2 separate regions of the Homo sapiens genome follow, and region 2 is linked to region 1. The links are contacts of gene promoters, found by promoter capture Hi-C in blood cells and fetal thymus (Javierre and others, 2016). All regions are on one chromosome and are shown on one strand. The core of a region is centred on a gene start or on the middle of the fragment in contact, and the rest is flanking DNA. Distances in the headings are between cores, read along the strand shown. Region 1 holds the start of POLB (DNA polymerase beta). Region 2 overlaps AP3M2 (adaptor related protein complex 3 subunit mu 2).

Region 1 (6,163 bases), core at 2,582-5,081:
GCTGGCCCACAGGCTTCTCAATAGGTTTGGCATGGACAAGATCTATGAAGGCCAAGTGGAGGTGACTGGCGATAATACAATGTAGAAAGCATTGATGGTCAGCCAGGTGCTTTCACCTGCTATTTGGATGCAGGCCTTGCCAGAACTACCACTGGCAATAAAGTTTTTGGTGACCTGGATGGAGGCTTGTCTATCCCTCAAAGTACCAAATGATTCCCTGGTTATGATTCTGAAAGCAAGGAATTCAATGCAGAATTACACCAGAAGCACAACATAGGCCAGAATGTTGCAGATTACATGCACTACTTAATGGAAGATAAAGATGCTTACAAGAAACAGTTCTCTCAATACATAAAGAATAGCATAACTTCAGACATGATGAAGGAGATGAAAGCTCATGCTGCTATAGGAGAGAATCCAGTCTATGAAAAGAAGCTCAAGAAAGAAGTTAAAAAGAGGTGGAACCATCCCAAAATGTCCCTTGCTCAGAAGAAAGATCGCATAGCTCAAAAGAAGGCAAGCTTCCCCACGGCTCAGGAGGGGGCTGCAGAGAGCTAAACCAAACAATTTTCTACGAGGATTTTTCAGATAAAGACAATAAACTTATGGACAGAAAAAAAAAATTGTTCCCACTGCAGTTCAGCATAAAGCGGTGACCTGTAATTCTTGCCCACCTCCACACATATCCAGTTTGTTAATCTGGTGACAGATTGGATACACCCTGGGAGCTCGCTGACGGTATTCTGTCTATAATTTCAATGCAAAATGTAATTCAGAGTTGATGCTGATGAGAAGTGACAGTACAGCTAAGTCAAAAGCATAAACACTGGATAGTCTTTGGAACCTTGGATTTGCATTCTGTTATAGCACAAATAACCCTTTATATTTGGATTTGAACTTCTCTCTAAGCACATGACTGATGATGAATCTGAAAAGACATATTTATAAGTAAAGGAGCAGGCAAACACAGTTTATGGAGGGGATCATTTCAGGAAAGGCAAGTAGTTCCAGGTCATTGGCACTGTGAGGCAAAGCCTAAAAGGGAAGAAGAATCAGATGAAAGGCCTTTTGTATGCTATGATGTATTTGGGTTTTATCAAGGTAAAGAGAAAATATTATTTAATTATTTGACTGACAAGATCAGATAACTATTTTCAAAAGAATACTTTGGCCACAATCAACAGAAATGTCTACTGGGGTAGGGAGGAGCATGCAGGAGTGGTAGGGAATCACCTGCTTTTCCAGACTTATTTCCCACTCATACCATACCCGTTAAGCAAACTGAACATCTGACTTCCAGAAAACGTTATACCCTTCATGTCTCAATGCTTTGGCACATTTTATTTGTCTAGACTGCTGGCCCTCTCACTTATCCCGATGAGCTTCTTCAAACTAAACACCTCCTTTCTGAGACCTGCTGTGATCCAAATAGAATACAAAGTTGAATATCTCTGTAATTTTGAATCATCAAATGTATGGATGATAATACAATTATTTTACTTTACAGAGGAAGTCACAGAAGTAAGGAAAGGAGGGAGCACAATCAGCTCTGAACTGTGTGGAGTGGGAATGGAAGAAGGGAGCTGACTTGGGATAAAGACAGTATAGGGCTAAAAATGTGGAAAAAAGTCCAGTGATACACAGATTTGGAGTCACTGACATAAGTGGCATTTCAAAGTCAAGAATGGCAAGATTGCCAGGGAAACTACAGAAGTAAGAAAAGAGGGCTAAGGGCAGGCAGACTCCCCGGAACCACAGGTTAACTATCCCTTATCTGAAATGCCTGGGACCAGCATTGTTTCAGATTTTGAATTTTTTTCAGGGTTTGGAATATTTGCGTATACATAATAAGATATCTTAGGGATATGGGAGATACAAGTCTAAATACAAAATTCAGTCATATTTCTCACACACCTTACGCACATACCCTGAAGGTAATCTTATATAGTCGTTTTAATAATTTTGTGCATGAAACAAAGTTTTGACCATTTTGACTGCCACCTACTACATGAGATCGGATGTGGAATTTTCCACTTGTGTCATCATGTCGGCAATCATCCAGATTTTAGAGCATTTCAAATTTTCAGATTAGGGATGCTCAACCTATACCAACATTAAAAGGTAAGACAGAAGAAGAGATGAAAGACCAGAAAGAGTGCCATTACAGAAGTCAAGAGATATTCACAGCATGAGCCAGGGGTGAATGCCACAGAGAGTCCAATAAGATGAGACGTAGGTGAGCGGATTTTCAGAGCACTGGTAGGTCCAGGCAAGGACTGGGACTTCTTGAGTAAATGATTAGGTATTAAGAAGTCCAGGCAAGGAATGAAGATTTTTCAAGAAGATTCACCATAAAGTGAGAAAAGAGGGAAGGTGCTAGCTAGAGGGAAGTTAAGATTGTTTTGGTTTTGCTTTTAAGAGCTGAGGGACTTGCACATATTTATAGGCTAAGGAGAGCTGACACCGAGGCTGATGCCTGGAATCCCAGCACTCTGGGAGACCAAGGTGTGTGGACCATTTGAGTTTAGGAGTTGGAGATCAGCCTGGGCAACATAGCAAAACCCGGTCTCTACAAAAAAAAAAAGAAAAAAAAAGAAAGAAAAAAAAATTAGCTGGGTGTGGTGGCGTGCGCCTGTAGTAGTCCCAGCCACTCAGGAGGCTGAGATGGGAAGATCACTTGAGGCTGGAAGGTTGAAGCTGCAATGAGCCATGATCATACCACAGCGAGACCCCGTCTCAAATAAAAATAAATAAATAAATAAATATAGGCTAAGGAGTAGAAGCAGGTGGATGTGGAAAGAATGAATAGGATAAGGCCCCTGGTGAGATGAACAAGGACAGGATCCCATGAACAAGGAACAAGGATCAGGATCAGGATCCCACAGGATCAACTTTAGACCAACCAAAAGAAAAAATGTGATTCCTTGAACCACATATATTTCACAGTATGGACTTCATCCGCTGTCTTTCATTACGGTTAAAATTACACCGCATTTCTAGTAATTCATGTTTGATGATGACAAAATACGTATCAGGCTACAGCTATCTGCAATCAGAATTGGGAACTTATCTGAACTGATCCTATAACGCACTGCCCACATTCTTCAAGAAATAGTAAGGTACCAGCCTCGATTCTTGCTTTTTCCCGCTCTTGCAGATGGACCAAATATCCACTGGGCCCTCAGTCCTGTTAATTGCCACACTAAACAGGGTATCCCAGAACGTATGCTACCCGAGAATGCTGCACTGTCCCACCTGTAAGCATTGTACTTGTGGATAGCTTGGCTCACGTTCTTCTCAAAGTTTGCGAGTTCTGAAAGGCAACAGAAGGCTCGGGTGAACAAGAACCACGAGTAAACAAACGAGAACTGTTTTCTGGAAGGGGATATGGCAGCCTCTAAGAGACAGTGACCACCCGTTTCCTCCAAGGGCCAGACCAAAAGCAGCCCAAGCGATGGCCCAGGTGTAGCCGGCAGGACTGACAACCAGCCAGGGGCGCCGGAGGGAGATCCCCACGGAAGACGACCCGCTGCAAGGAACCTACCCTACCCACTGGACTGTCGGTGTGGGAGAGAAGGAAGGCAGGGGAAGAGGCTGGAAGGAAAGAAGAAAGCCAGCGGGGCCCGGCCCGGTGCTAACCTGTGAGCATGTCGGTGATTCCCCCGTTGAGAGTCTCCTGCGGCGCCTTCCGTTTGCTCATGGCGGCCTGCACCCGAGAACCCCAGAGTGTTCAGAACCAGGGACTAGAGCCCTCTCCCAGCTTGAAGGAGGTACCAGGACTTGGAGACGGGAGCAGGAGCAACCCAGCTCCGGCGCGACCGGCGGAACAATGGTTGCCCCCGATGGGGGGCGGGGCGCACGGCGCTTGTTGTGACGTCACGCGTCCTGGGCGGGGCGGGGCGGGGCTAGAGGGGCGAGCCCTCGGCAGGTGAGGAGAGAGAACTCGGAGGGTTCGTGGACTCGTGGACGTGGACACGGCGCGGGGGAAATAGGCACCTCAGAATGACAGCCCAGGGGCCTTCCTATGGGAAGACCTGGAGTTTTGACCTAAGATATTAAATCTGTTTTCTCAGTGTTTATCTGGAATCCTTTCCCTAGAAGGGGAAACGGGAGTGCGATCTTGATTCTGAAATACTTGCGCTGGTGGGGTAGCTTCCTGCACAAAAATGTGCACTGTAATAGCTACCCAATGCATGGCGCGTTTTGTACGTGGTTAGAGGCGACACTGGCGTCACACTGTCAAAACTTTCTCTAAGGATACCGGGCAGTCCACACTCCAGTGCAGCCCCTTACGTACTAGGGCGCTGCCGGAGCCCGGCGTGAACCATGCCGAGAACAGGAATCCTCCCGCACACGTGTTAGTACACCTGCCAACCAGTGTCAAAAGATATTTTATTTTTAATCCCCCTGCCTTTGCGGTAGGGACCAAATTAATGAAGAGACCACAAGAAAGGGAGAAGTGTTTCATCTAGATCATGAGCAATGGAACCCTAATTATAACATGATGACCTACATCTGAGAAATTTACAGTCTGCTTGAGAAATGGAAATGTCACATCAGCAATAGTTTATTTTACAAGCGTAACTCCTGGGTTCATATCGAACTGCAATTCCAGGCAATTGCTTTGTGCATCGAAAAATTAAAATTTATTACAAAATGATACGTAGTTGCTGTAGAGAAATCTGGAAAAATGTATAAAAGGAGAAAATTAAAATCAGTGATCTCACCCTACAGCTGAACTATTAATATTTTGGGACGTACACTTCTAGTCTTCTAACCCAGTCTATTAAAAATTCCCATTATTTTCCAATAAATATCATTAGTTTCTTTGATTAGCAAGGTTGTGGTGATTGTGTTTCCTTACAATATCAGTGTATATCTTAAGTTATGCTTATTGGAAATCTGTAATTCTTCTTTTTTTGAATTTCCTATTCATATCATTTACCATTTTCCTAATGGGGGTAGTTTGTTACTAATCTGGTAGATCTTTTCTATATATTACTACTTGCCCTTTTATGGATAGCTTTTGTAAAAATTTTGTACATATTTGTATTTTCCTCAATTTATTACTTGAGGAATAAAAGTTAAAAAAACTTTATGCCTGCAACTTAACTATCTGATTAGTTAAGCTGCAGTGAGCAGTGACCACTCTCATTTACTCTTTATACTCTCATTTACATATATGACTTGTCCTAGTTTTCCCTGTTCACACTTTTTTCTGTCCAATCTCTATTCCAGGTGATATTCAGATTATTTTGCTCTGAAGAATTATTCCTCCTTAAATAAAAATGTATTTACCTCTGAATTTTAAAAGTTACAAATGTAGGGAATTGTGGGATCAGTTTTACAAATTTTTTTGTTTTGAGACAGAGTTTCACTCTTGTCCCGCAGGCCAGAGTGCAATGGCACGATCTCGGCTCACTGCAACCTCTGCCTCCCGGGTTCAAGTGATTCTCCTGCCTCAGCCTCCCGAGTAGCTGGGATTACAGGATCCTGCCACCATGCCCAGCTAATTTTTGTATTTTTAGTAGAGATGGGGTTTCACCATGTTGGCCAGGCTGGTCTCAAACCCCTGACCTCAAGTGATCCACCCGCCTTGGCCTATTAAAGTGCTAGATTACAGGCGTGAGCCACTGCACCTAGCCCATTTTTACAAATACTATATTTTTAAAATTAGTGCCAGAGAAACCAAGGAAAATAATCCATTATCTGTCCTTATCGTCTTAGAACAACCGACATTTGATCTGCTTCACAAAGTTCTTCTTGAAATAACTTGCTTCAATTGGCTTCTAAGATTCCACATGCTCTGGGCTTCCTTTTTCCTCACTGGCCAGTCCTCAGCAGGGTGTGTGTGTGCGCACATGTGCGCCTGAGCACTGGTTCCCAGCTCCTCCTCCACTCTCCAGCCTTTATGGGAAATGGCTTCACACTTCAGTCTTCTAACCAGCTTTTCCAACTTGTCCAGTTTTACCTGTTTAAATGGCATGTCTAGCTTGAAAGTCTCCTAAACTCATAGTTCAAGTCTTGACCTCTCCCTTGAGTTCCAGTCTCATACATCAGGCTGTCTACTGGATAGCTCTAGTCCATAATAGGCATCTCAAAGATAAAATGTCCTAAAGAACTCCTGACTCTTGCCCCACCAGCTTCTCCTTAACTTTCCCCC
Region 2 (6,163 bases), core at 2,552-5,051, 180 kb after region 1:
CATATTTTGGTTTTGAAAGTAACCTGAACTTAGTATCTCAGATGCAGCTTAAATAATGTATTGGCTTTCAGTAGAGTTCGTAATCTACATATTGATATAAAAATTTCATGGGTAAAAACAGTATTTGAGCCTGAGATAGGTTCTTAGGTACATTTATGGTAGGTACTAAAATGTACATATCAATATGATCTGTCTCATTCCCAAGTTCCAACACTGAAACTTAGGAAAAGAACACAAAGTTGATCTCTCCCTGTCTTTAAGAATTGTAGATCAATTCCTTCACTTGTTTTTTCCTTTACAGGCATAAACTTTTTTTAATTTAAAAGGTTTTATACTGACATAATAAAATACATTAATTTAAATTCTATTTCCTTCTTCCATTACCTGGATCCTTTTATTTTCTGTCTTTAAACAAAATTTTTTTTAGATAGAGTCTCGCTCTATCGCCCAGGCTGGAGTACAGTGGTGCAGTCTTGGCTTACTGCAACCTCTGCCTTCCGGGTTCAAACAATTCTCCTGCCTCAGCCTCCCGAGTAGCTGGGACTACAGGCGCGTGCCACCACATCCGGCTAATTTTTGTATTTTTAGTAGAGACGGGGTTTCACTATGTTGGCCAGGCTGGTCTTGAACTCCTGACCTAATGATCCACCCAACTCGGCCTCCCAAAGTGCTGGGATTACAGATGTGAGCCACCATGCCCACCTAAAAAATTTTTTTAAGAGATAGGGTTTTCCTATGTTGCCCATGCTGGAGTTCAGTGGCTATTCACAGGCACAATCATAACTCACTGCAGCCTCGACCTCCTGGGCTCAAGTGATCCTCCCACCTTAGCCTTCAGAGTAGCTGGGACCACAGGCATGCACCACCATGCTTGGCTAATTTTTGTATTTTTTGTAAAGACAGGGTTTCATCAAGTTGCCCAGGCTGATTTCGAACTCCTGTGCATGAGTGATCCTCCCGCCTCAGCCTCCTAAAGTATTGGATACAGGCATGAGCCAATATGTCAGGCCCATTTCAACTTTTCAAAAGTGGTTCTTAGATACCCTTTTCTAGATTAAAGTGAGATACAGGCTTAACTCACTTCATAATATTCGTAAATGATTCAGGCACTAACAAAGCTTTTAAGGCTTAAAATGAACTCAGAATATTGAAGAAACCACCAAATTTGTTTCCTTAAAAAGAGGAACTATGTATTAAAATGTATCATCAAGATATAATAATCAAAGCAGTCTAGGGAAAAGGCAGGAAAGCCTAAAAACAGACCAAGAATCCATAATGACAGGACAAGATAGAAATGTCATTCTAAAACAGGGGAAAAGGATAAATTACACAATGGTGCTAGGAAAACTCTTGAAGAAATAAACATTATTGCACACCAAGATAATTTTCAAATGGATTAAATAATTAAATCCAAAAATAAAATCACAAACTAGACTTTTAAAAAAGATCTTCCCTTCTCTGAGATCAAAAAGACATTCTCCTGTTTTTGTCTAATAATTATAAAGTCTGTGTTTAACTCCTTAACCTAGCTAGACTTTATTTTGTGTATAGTGTGAAGTGGAGGGACTTAATTTTTTCCATATTGAAGCTGACTGCCCTAATACAATATAGTTAACAACCAGCCCCTGGTCCACTGATTTGATAAATGACCACATCTATCTACACCAAATTCCTATAAAAGCAAGGGTCTGTTTCTGGACTATTTTATCCCAATGACCTATCTGTCTGTTACAGACAAATACCAAATTTTAAAAACTACCCAAACTTCATACAGATTGAGTAATCTTTACCTGAAATGTTCAGGACCAGAAATGTTTCAAATTTTGTATTTTTTTAAATTTTGGAATATCTGGATTATACCAGTTGCGCATCCCAAATTCAAAAATCTGAAATCCTCCAATGAGCATTTCCTTTGAGTGTCATGTCAGTATCCAAAAAGTTTTGGATTGTAGAGCATTCTGGATTTTGGATTTGGGATGTTAAACCTGTAATATATCTGATATCTGGTAGGACACATTTTATCTTTCCTCTTTTTAAAAATATTATTTTCAAAACTCTCTTGGGTCTTGTAGGATGTCTACTGTATGAATATTTGTCTTGTGTACTATACAAACTTAACGTGTCGTGATATTTGACAGGGCAAATCCTCCCAACAACCCCTTTGTAATTCTTTTCCAAAACTGTCCTGGCTATTCTTGCAATATTTATACTTTTAAAATGTATTTTTCAATCAGTTTATAAAATTCCATGAAAATGCTTGCTTATGCATTAAACAAGACCCAAAATGTAAAACCTTAATGAAAAGAATGATTAATTTGATTAAATCAAAACATTTAAAATGTGGCTAAACACCACCAGAACAAAGCTAAATCACAAGTGATAGACTGTAAGAAAATATCTGTAATGCAGTAATCAAAAGACATAAAGATCTCCCATAAAAGAGATTTTAAATCCACATGAAAAAAGAAATACATTTCAACAACAAAAAAATGAACAAAGGACATGAAAAGGTAATTCACAATAGAGGAAAAACAGTCAATAAATACTTGAAAAGATTTTAGTCTCCTTAATAACAAAAAATGACTGTAAATACAAGATATCAATAAACTATCAAATTGCCAATGTTTCTAAAAAATTATTAATGACAATAACAGGGTTCACTACAGTGCTTTGAAATTGTTACTGAAAGTATAAATTGGCCTAACTTTTCTGGAGAGCAACACATTACAGTACTTAAAATGTATACACCCCTTGACACAGCATTGCTACCTCTACTACTTTAAAGAAATCATCCCAGATGTGCACCAAGGTTCAAGTGTAAGAATGGTAATCCTTGTTATTTAAAAGAACAAAAATCAGTAACATCATAAATAGGGATTCAGTACGTAACTTTGGGTCCACTCCACATGGAAGAAAACTATAAATTATTAAAAATGAAGGCCAGGCATAGTGGCTCCCACCTGTAATCCCAGAACTTTGGGAGGCCAAGGTGGGTGGATCACTTGAGGTCAGGCATTAGAGACCAGCATAGTCAACATGATGAAACCCCATCTCTCCTAAAAAATACAAAAATTAGCTGGGCATGGTGGCGTGTGCCTGTAATCCCAGCTACTCGGGAGGCTGAGGTAGGAGAATCGCTTGAGCCTGGGAGGCGGAGGTTGCAGTGAGTTGAGATCGCACCACTGCACTCCATCCTGGGCAACAGAGCAAGACGCCATCTCAAAAAAAAAAAAAAGAACCATGTAGAAGACATCATCATGGGATAATGTTCATAAAATATCACATGTTAAAAGTGTGGTGGGATTAAAAGCAATTTTTGCATTCTTTGTGCTTTTCTGTATTTCTGAAGTTTCTACAATAATCATGTGTTTCTTCTGTAATCAGAAAAAAATATTTTTAAAGAACACTTCATTTTGTCATTAAAATCAGGGTATTTTCCACAAAGCAAAAATATTATTTCAGGTTGTACTCAGTCTACAAGAGGGGCCAGGCGCGGTGGCTCACACCTGTAATCCCAGCACTTTGGGAGGCCGAGGCAGGTGGATCCCCTGAGGCCAGGAGTTCAAGACCAGCCTGGCCAACATAGTGAAACACCATCTCTACTAAAAATACAAAAATTAGCTGGGTGTGATGGTGCATGCCTGTAATCCCAGCTACTCGGGAGGCTGAGGCAGGAGAATCACTTCAACCCAGGAGGCGGAGGTTGCAGTGAGCCAAGATCACGCCACTGCACTCCAGCCTGGGTGACAGAGGGAGACTCTGTCTCAAAAAAAAAAAAAAAACAACTACAAAGAGCAAAATTAAAGCACTGGGACACCTGAGATCCCCAAAGACAAACACTCAAAACAATGTGCGACACTCGACTAAGCCACTCAGGCTGTAGGATGGCCACTATCTATCAGTTTCCCCCTCTGCCGTACCTGTGATGGTGTTGACAACCGTTCGAAGGATGGTAGGAGGCTTTATGAGTTCTTTAAGAATGTTCGACTCGGTAGCCAATGGAAAACCATTGTCAAGCATCTCTTCCAATACCTCATAAACCACAACTACATTGTCTTTGATCACTGGCTCTGAACAGACTCCAAAATAATCCTGATGGAGACAGAATATACACATTGATCACTCAGATACTGTAAAATAAATAAATAAATAAAAGAATGTGCCTACAGAGAATAAGGATCTGGCCTGTCCATGTGTTTCTGGGCTACTCTTCTACAACGAGGGAATGCAGCATAACCATAGTTCTCTTAGGCAGTCTGTTTGGTAGAAAGCACTAGACTGGCTTATGGTACTACTGTCATTACTAGCTTCTTCTACAAACAAGAGGAACTTAAATCTTTTGGGTTAATTTCCTCAACTTGATAAAATACACAGAATACAAAATTGAATCTTGATTATGTGCTTATCAACAAGAATTTGAAAGAATTATACAAAATAATACTTGATATAACAAAGAACAGTACATGAAAATCTTTACCCCTACTGCTGTGCTATTTCTTAACATTCATGCAGTGAATAAGAGTTGAGGGGAAAAAAATGAAATGAAGGGGACAAGCTAGCACACCTGAAAATTCCTTTGGACTATCTTTAAGACGCTAGCATTCCAAGAACTCTTTGTCCTTTTATTTAAAAGGCTAACGTTAGGTGCTAAATTATCTGCATTGTGGGAAAGCACTGGATTTCAAACCAGAAGACCTGGATTATAATTTTGTCATTTGTAGATTAAGTCATGTTAATTAATTTTGATCTTGATTCTTTAATGGTATAATCAGGATAACACCACTGGAGGTACAGGGCTGTAAGAATTAGGCATGACTAATTAAACACTAACGCTCATGAATGTACTTTGTAAACTATAAAGCACTACAAAATGGAATGCGTGATCATTATTTAGCAAGAAATGTTTGTGGCTATTCAATGTTCCCTTCCAGCAATGTCAGTATGTCTTTTCCAGGACCTCTGAGAGGGTCATGCAACCCTCTTGAACTCATAGAATGAAGGAAAATTTACTCCTTTTGAGAAAGTCCATTCTATTCATGAATGGCTCTGATCATTCCAAAGTTCTTTCTTTTGCTAAACTGAAATTTGCCTCCTAGCTCTGTTTTGCAGAGCAAGTGTACATAACAGCCCTGCAATTATCTGAAAACTACGAGTTTTCACCTCAGTTTTTTTCTTCTCAGGGCCACACTTTCAAGATACTTCCGCTGTTCATGATAAGGTATGGTTTCCAGGTTGTTTCACCATCTTTCCATTTCTTTGACATCCAAAACTGAACAGACTCTACTAGAGTCTAAATTACATTAGATAACGTCAATTATCCACAAGATTCCAATACCCGGGTCACCTAAGAGTCAGGAATGTATTCCTAAAACAAAAAGATTTCCTCTTTAAGAGGAAAATTCTCATTTTGAATGATAATTTAAAAGAAGAAAAAGTCACACATTTCCTTCCCAAAAGTGATTTATTTTTAAAAAATAAAACACTTCACTAGGTTTTATAAACCAGGCATCATGTGAACTAAGCAGCTGGAAAGGAGCCTCGCAATACAGCCAAGTGCTGCAGCCGGCCTGTGAGCCTGCAATTCTATTGCGGGGCCGCTCCTGTCACATTCTGGTCCTGGAAAAATCATGCTGCCGGAGAGGATGCACATCCACATCGGAGACCTGAGAATCAGGATGTCCACTGACTTTTAACAACTGCTTCAAGAATAACAAGCTCTGAAGTCTCAGACTTCCAAATTAGCAAATTTACTCTGCTTTCCCAAATTCCCCCATGGTTTCAACTAGATCAAACAACTCTTCTCACTTCCTGTCTTGTAATAAGTTACATTAGTATGGCCATATAGCGGCTGTCAGTTTCACCAGTGCGACTGTTAATCTCAGAATGAGTAAAGTATCACACGTGGAAATCATAACAAGGCCCAGTTAAAAGTTGTTTAGGATCACAACTCCTGGGTTCTTCTAGTTCTTCCACATACTGGGACTTATACTTACGTTTTCACTGTGCAAAGGGGCCGGTATGTTGCATGAGAACTGAAATTCCAGAACAGTAGTACTACAGAGTATTGCAGGGAAAAACAAAAAATGTATTTTAATTCTCTTGGGAAGGGAAGTTGTTCTAGACGTGGTGCAGATATGAGTACAAGAGAAGGAACTCTTTGACT

Evidence for each region. The method cuts DNA at HindIII sites, captures the fragments that hold promoters and counts their contacts. A CHiCAGO score of 5 or more calls a contact.
Region 2: a fragment that was not itself captured here is called in contact with the fragment with the promoter of POLB in region 1 in 16 of 17 cell types (endothelial precursors, M2 macrophages, M0 macrophages and 13 more); the score reaches 11.6 in endothelial precursors.

What each region holds. Positions count from the first base shown.
Region 1 is chr8:42,336,162-42,342,324 of GRCh38, reverse strand. It overlaps POLB (DNA polymerase beta), which reads right to left and starts at 3,831. Exons shown (of 14, transcript NM_002690.3): 1 at 3,640-3,831; 2 at 3,256-3,313. The coding sequence starts at 3,700. It also overlaps the pseudogene RPL5P23. The HindIII fragment of the contact is 11,887 bases long and covers 524-6,163 here.
Region 2 is chr8:42,155,870-42,162,032 of GRCh38, reverse strand. It overlaps AP3M2 (adaptor related protein complex 3 subunit mu 2), which reads right to left. Exons shown (of 9, transcript NM_006803.4): 3 at 3,921-4,092. Among named protein-coding and RNA genes, the nearest start is that of AP3M2, 5.9 kb to the right of the region's middle. The HindIII fragment of the contact is 5,361 bases long and covers 1,121-6,163 here.